2 separate regions of the Homo sapiens genome follow, and region 2 is linked to region 1. Evidence: promoter capture Hi-C in 16 types of primary human blood cells and fetal thymus (Javierre and others, 2016). All regions are on one chromosome and are shown on one strand. Each heading gives the region's core, a stretch centred on a gene start or on the middle of the fragment in contact. The rest is flanking DNA. Distances are from core to core; before and after follow the strand shown.

Region 1 (3,663 bases), core at 498-2,997:
GTCATAAGTAACCAAACAATTGTAAACATTGAACACATTCTTATTGCTAGGAAGATATGTAAAAATGTTCCTCTTTGCCAAAAATTATTTTGCAAATAAAATAGGTAAATGACTTTAACTGATTAGACATTAAACACAATATAAAATCTCATTCTTTCACAATACCACTTCTGGGAGCTGGCAAGATGTGGGATTGAAAAGTAGCAAATCTCTGACTTAATGAAAATTTCCTGACATTCCACCCATGAAGTTCCTTGTCATCTCCCTGACCTCATATTGGGGTGTCCCAGGATCCAGTGTGAGGGTTCCTTTTCTTCCTAAATGCACTCTCATGGAGATCCAATCTGGCCTCAGGTTTTAAATAGCATCTATTATATGCAGATCTTTCCCCAGAACTCTTATTGTTCCTCTTCATTTCTCAATGTCAACAAGTCCAAAACTGACATGAACCCTCCTGATCTTCAGCCCCAAACTTGCTCCTCTTAGTCTTCCCCTTTGTAATTAATGGCAACCCAATCCTTCTGAATTCTTAGTATAAAAACCTTGGAGTGATGCTTGATTCCTCTCCCTCTCTCTCAGATCCCACATCAATCCATATCCAAATCCTATTAAATCTAATTTCAAAATATATCCAGAATCCAATCCCATCCCATCCCATTCCCTCCACTGCCACTGCTCTGATCCAAGCCACCTCTCTCCTTATTGCCATTGCCTCCTAACTGCTTTTCTTCCTTTCCCTGTCCCCTTCAGTCCATTCCAGCACAGCAGGCTGGATGCACCTTTAATACTTCCATGGCTTATCGGGCCTAACCCTGTCTGGCTCTCTGTAACTCCTCCTGCCTCACGGAGCCACTTCTTTCCTGCTCTACTGCAGCCAGCTGGCGTCCCTCCTGCCCTGGCCTTTTGTAGGATTCCCTCTCTCGTAACAAACATTCTCCCCCGAGACATGCACGAGGCTGCCCACTCTCACCGCCTTCATGTCTTTCTCAAACGTCCCGTTCTCCACGAGGCCTTCCTGACCACGCTATTAAACCTAACGACTTCTCCTCGGCACTCCCCGCCTCCCTACCCTACTTAATTTTTCTCCAATGCACCTATCACCATCTGCCACACTAAGATTTTGCACATTTATCTTGCGTATCTGTTTTCCCCCAACTACCAAGTAAAATGTGCATCCCACAAGGACCGGGAATGCTGTTTGCTTAGTGCTCTATCAGCAGACCTTAGAAACGCATCTGCACACAGTAGGCGCTTCGTGGATTTACTCCCACGAGCTTGCACCACGCTTCCCCTCCACACCAGGCATGAAGATGTTCCAGTCATGGAGATTCCCACCACTAAAGGAACTGCAGAAGCTGTAAATTCGGGCATGAGAATCTGAGGAGAAACGTGCCGAGGCAAGAGGCTGGGTAGCCCCTGTGCAGCACGCAGTTAGCCGGGGCTTCAGCGCCGGAGCTCCCCGTTGGACGTGTTGCGCTGACCCAGCTTTCCCGCCTTCGAGGGCGGCCAGAACCTTGTGTCCCGGCCCCACCCACACCAGCTCAGGCTGAGAGAATCTCACAGGGCTTCACTGGGTCATCCGTGACCAGCTTTGGTCGGTTCCTGCCTTGGCGGGAAAAGTTGACCTACATTGCGTGCCAGGAGCGCAAGGCTTGCAGGGCATGCTGGGAGAGCGCAGGGAACGCTGGGAGAGCGCGGGAAATACTGGGATTGGCTCCCGAGGGCTGTGAGGAGGGCACGAGGGGACACTCCGATGAAGGCAGGGCACGCGGGGCGAGCCGGGAGCGTCTCCTGAGGGCAGCGAGGAGGGAGCTGAGGCACGCGGGCTCTCAATCGACGCCCCACAGAGACCAAGAGGCCTGGCCTTGGGGGGCAGCTGCTTGAAGGAGGCAGAGCGGAAGCGAGGGAGACTGCTGGAGGCCCTGCCGCCCACCCGCCCTTTCCTCCCCCTGAGGAGACGCCTGACGCATCTGCAGTGCAGGAGGCCGTGGGCGTTAGAAGTGTTGCTTTTCCAGTTTGTAAGACCATTTTCCTGATTCTCTTCCCCACGGTTGCGGAGGAGCAGGTCAGGGCCGCCATGAGGGCAGGATCCCGGTGCCGGCGCCGGCACCCTGAGGACGTTGGTTTGGGTCAGGAAAAAAATGTATTCATCTGCAAAGACCCATGAGTCCCAATTTTTCGGGCATTTCATTATATCGGAAATTTATAGAATCACCTTTTAAAATGGATTTAGCTGAACAAAGACCTTAGATTCGTTTCCACTCACGTCCATTACTGTTCTCACAGAAGCCAGGCCGGAAGAGGGGTGGGCGCTCGCCTGGGGGCAGCGGCAAGCCGGGTCTGGGGCCGCCCTGAACCCCGCGCCCCGGGAGGATTTTTAGGAAGGGTCCCTCGTAGCGGCGGTCCCGAGGCTTAGCGCACAGCACTGCAGGAGCTGGGCGCTCCCAGAGTTTTGGTCCTTTGGGGTTCTCTGAGTCCTCCCTCACGTGTAGAATTGCGTAGGTGCCTGTTGCCTGCTCCTAGCACTTGTTCCTTGCCCTGCTGGGGATTGGGAATAAAGATGAAATCCTGGGACAGAAACGTAGTGGAGCGACTCCCTGGACAGGATGTTAATAGCGCATCCGTAGATCATAATAAGGCTTGGCCCACGTTTTGAGCTTCACAATATAGTTCTACAGCCTAGCCAAAGAAAACAACATTCTTTTTGAATCTGCAAGTTTTGCCAACTAGGAACTCACAAAATTAAACAATAGTAATAATTCTAATAAATTCATGCTTATCCCTGAACAGATCACTCTTGTTTACATACAGTGTTGCAATCCGTGAGTATTTGAAGATTGGCAAAACGGGAGGACTTGCACCCAGGAATTTTTTGGTGACCTGGAATTTACATTCCTACTGTATTACATTCCTGCTGGCATTGCCAGCATTCCTCAGATGACACCACAAACTCATTTCAGTACTGTGATCAGAAGGCTGGTCACACTGCACATTCCCGGGCCAGTATATTATTCTTTCTTAAAAAGAAAAAGCATGTTGATGTTGAAAAGTTGAAAGTACTAGAGTCCAGCTTACTTTTCCCTAATGTATTTGTGCATGTTAGTGTACTGAAGCTTCACTGGGTTGCTTTACTTTTATATTCCAGTTTTTGTTACTGTAGTAAAATGTAATGTAGACTTCAAAGGTATACCTTATGAATTATCAACTGTAAACTGTGCCTCCAATAGAATTTGAAAGCTGGATAATTTAGTGGAAACAAAAACTAGGTAACAATTTAGAGACCAGTAAACATTTTCTGTCGTGTACAATGAAAAATAATATATTCCTCAACCTTGAAGTGCTTTACAGAAAAATCTGAAACAACAAAAGACTTTGCTATACATTTTGACTTTTAAAAAATAGTTATTGTTATAGAAAAAGGAGTGATGAAAATATTCTAAAAATTATTGCAATGATGGTTGCACAACTCTGAATACAGTAAAAAACAGTGAATTGTACACATTAAATGGGTGAATTTTATGTTATGTGAACTATATCTTAGTAAAACTTGTACCAAAAATCCTAGAAAATCATTAGAAGACCTTAAAGGTAAATGGCAGGGATACTTAACTGCTGAAGTTTGCAAACTAACTTGTTTGTATCATCCCATTCTAAAACAATATC
Region 2 (3,663 bases), core at 427-2,926, 270 kb after region 1:
CCCTCTTCCGAGAATCAGGCCCACCCATCTTCCTGCCCATTTCACATCTGAAACTCTACTCACCTAGTATGAAAACTTCCATCCATTCCTCGAGACTGTTACCCCTCTGGTGCTCCCTACCTTGGTAAGTGGACCATCGGCTAGTTGATAGCAGAGCCCTGCATCGTCTTCCACACTTCCCTCTCTTTCCAATGCAATTCAATATCAGGGCCAGTCCAGCCCGTTTCTCAAAAGCCACCACTTCCTTCTAGTTCCACTGTCACCTCGCATAGCTCATAAGCCAACACTCTTCAGTTTTGCTGGGTTATTGCAGAGGCCCCTAACCAGCCACTGCTTACACGACAGCCCCTCTCACTGTACATGCCATGCGGCAACTGGCTTGTCCCTCTCACCCTGCTTAAAGCTCTCAACTGGCGACATGGTCTGAGGATGAAGTCAGACATCCCAAGAAGGTCTACAAGTCCTGCTCAACCTGCTCTCTGCTTACTCTTCTGGCTTGCTCTGCCCTCACTAGATACACCCTGACAACCCCATCCTTCAAATCCTCCCAGTTTCGCAAACATCCAAGAGCTTCCCTGCCTCAGAGCCTTCTCAGAGTCTCTCCCTCCTCCAGCAACACCCTTACAACCCCCTTGGTGTCACTAATACCCCTCCCACCCACCCTCCACATTATTCTTCAAATCTCAGCTTAGTCGTAATTTTTCAGGGAAGCTTTTTCTTATTCCTCATGAGTAAGTGAGGTGTCCCTATTATGCTACCATAGTCTCCATAGTTCCTTTGTCGCATTTATTATCATTGCCATTAAATACTTAGTCAAGTACCACATACTGACAATTTGGCCAACAACAAACATATATGACAGTGGTCCCATAAGATTACAATACCATATTATTACTGTACCTTTTTCTATGTTTACCTACATAGATACTTACTACTGTGTTGCAACTGCCTACAGTATTCAGTACAGTAACACACTGCACAGGTTTATAGCCTAGGAACAATAGGCCACACCATGCTGCCTAGGCGTGTAGTAGGCTATGCCATCTAGGCTTGTGTGGGTACACTCTAGGGTGGCTGAAGATGTCCAGACACGCATTTCTCAGTATCCCTGTTAAGTGATGCATGATTGTATTTCTACAATTTGAAAACTGCCAGCTCTCCTGCTAGACTGTAACATCTTTACAGGCAGAGATTGTCTGTTTTGTCTATCCTGATGTCTTGAAGGTTCCAGGCATACTGTATGTCATTAGGAAACATTTAAGTGCTGAAATGAATGATTTCAACATTTGTATCATCCATTCTCATGCTGCAATGCACACTCATGATTTCTGTGCATCTCTCTCCCTCCTATTAAACTTCACGCTGTATAATATTAGCGACCATATCCTACTAATCTCTGTACTTCAGGCATCCAGTGGGGTGTTGCTACACACATTAGATAATCAGTATGATTGCTAAAATCTTCCTCTTGACTTTGCAGCAGCGATTTTGGGGGTCTTCCCTACCAGGTGTGCTATACCCTTCCTGGACTTCTCTCATCTTTATACTCTCCACTTCACCTTGTTCCTAGTTTGAAACCTTCTTGGGAGCAGCTAGTACTGGGGAGAAGCACAGAAAACAAGCCATGCAGAGGTGTCAATGGCTAATAACTGTTCGATGTGTTAGGCTTCCCAGCAGTGCTTGTATCTTACCAGGGGCCACACCTTCATTCAGAGGCCACAAACTGGAAGCCCGGGAGCCCTGCACTGGCTCCCTCACCCCCGCTGATGTGGCTTTCACGGTGTCCTAAGCACTTTTGAATGGGAAGCTGACATTGCAAAACTGGAAGATTTCACTTTCACACACACACACACGATTCCTCTTGAGCAATCAGAAGACAGAGTGAGATGACACTGCTCTGCCATTCCTGCAGGTGATGAGAAGCTAAGCTGAGGAGAGCACGAAGCCCAGCATCTGACCATTTAGACATGCTCAACAAAGTTCTTAGAAGAAGCAGAGGAAGGAGAAAGCTCACAAAAGAAAACAAATGCTATTTTATCTGACTTCTCACTTCTACGGATAGTTGTTTTCACTTAAAAACAAATCCCCAAACTGTTTCATGATAGGGCCAAGTGACTTTTAAACACAATCTAGTTTAGTAGATAGTATACTATACTATTTTAAGGGCCAGGCGTGGTGGATCCTGCCTGTAATCCTAGCACTTCGGGAGGCAGAGGCAGGAGGATCCCAGGAGTTTTGAGACCAGCCTGGGCAACATGGGGAGATCCTGTCTCTTAAAAAAAAAAAAAGTGTACTATACTATTTTAAATGTCTACTTTTAAATGAATTCAGTGTTATCTGTTATTTTTAATGTTATTTTTCAGATCAAGTTTGAATATTAATTGTACATGTAATGGCTAAAAAATTAAATCATGATTTGAGATCTTGATTATACAAAACACTTGTTTCTATCTTAATGTACGATGGTTAGACCTAGCATAACTATGTTAACGATCTGTAATACTACTGCCTTTCATAACGAAGAAAAACTTAAACCAAGTCCTAACATTAGCACATATTCCTTCTGCTCTTCCACTGACCAACTATGTAACATCTACATTCTGTATTGCAGAGCACTTATCTTCCTCTTTACCATGTTGAGAAAGCTTTCTTCTTTAGGAAGTAAGTTCTTGTAAGGCAGAGGTTGGGTTGGATATGTTCTATACTTTGCTCAGCTCCCCAAAGCCCTAATCAATTGATAAAATACAAAGACAAGAATGCAGGAGATTTTCTGAAGCAACAAAATGATGCATTCTTTTTAATTCCTAGCATGATGTAGAAGAGAAGTGATGGCAGGTGTAATAATTTCTTTTCTTTTTCTTTCTTTCTTTCTTTTTTTTTTTTTGAGATGGAATTTCACTCTTGTTGCCCAGGCTGGAGTGCAATGGCGTGATCTCGGTTCACTTCAGCCTCCGCCTCCCAGGTTCAAGCAATTCTCCTGGCTCAGCCTCCCAAGTAGCTGGGATTACAGGCGCCTGCCACCACACCCAGCTAATTTTTTTGTATTTTTAGTAGAGATGGGGTTTTACCATGTTGGCCAGGCTGGTTTCGAACTCCTGACCTCAAGTGGAGGTCACCCATCTCAGCCTCCCAAAGTGCTGGAATTACAGGCTTGAGCTACCATGCCTGGCAAGTATAATTTCTTAACAGTTATGATAAGTAAACGCTTTGGAGCTATTTTAGTTTGGATAGAATTGAAAAAAATGTCATTATGTGGACAAATTTTATTTAAAAACATTATTCTAGTGTAATTCCTTAGGCAGAATGAAAAAAGATGTCAGATAAATTATGCCTTTGACTATAACAGAAAATCTGAAGCTTTAAATCATCTCACCTCCCACACTGAAATTCACCAAAACAGCATTCGAGAAGAACTTAGATTTAAAATTCTAGTGTGGGTGGTTAAGTGTTCATAGCATATTCTTATTGCCATTGTAAGTAGGCATTTGAATGGAATGACAAAAAATGTTAATTTAAAGGAAATGAAACTTTAAATGACACTTAGTCATCAAAAATGACTAGTCACCAAAAATGACCAATGCTTCCTTCAAATTTTAAATAATTATAACCAAATAAAGGAAGCCATCTATAGTTTATTTAAAATCCCACTTTCAACCCCAGAAG

The links. The method cuts DNA at HindIII sites, captures the fragments that hold promoters and counts their contacts. A CHiCAGO score of 5 or more calls a contact.
Region 2: a contact is called between a fragment that was not itself captured here and the fragment with the promoter of C18orf63 in region 1, in 1 of 17 cell types (total CD8 T cells). The highest score is 5.1, in total CD8 T cells.

What each region holds. Positions count from the first base shown.
Region 1 is chr18:74,314,092-74,317,754 of GRCh38, forward strand. It overlaps C18orf63 (chromosome 18 open reading frame 63), which reads left to right and starts at 1,748. Exons shown (of 14, transcript NM_001174123.2): 1 at 1,748-2,018. RefSeq lists an enhancer at 1,956-2,125. The HindIII fragment of the contact is 4,843 bases long and covers 1-3,111 here.
Region 2 is chr18:74,587,407-74,591,069 of GRCh38, forward strand. No RefSeq gene overlaps it. Among named protein-coding and RNA genes, the nearest start is that of ZNF407-AS1, 8.6 kb to the right of the region's middle. The HindIII fragment of the contact is 1,934 bases long and covers 710-2,643 here.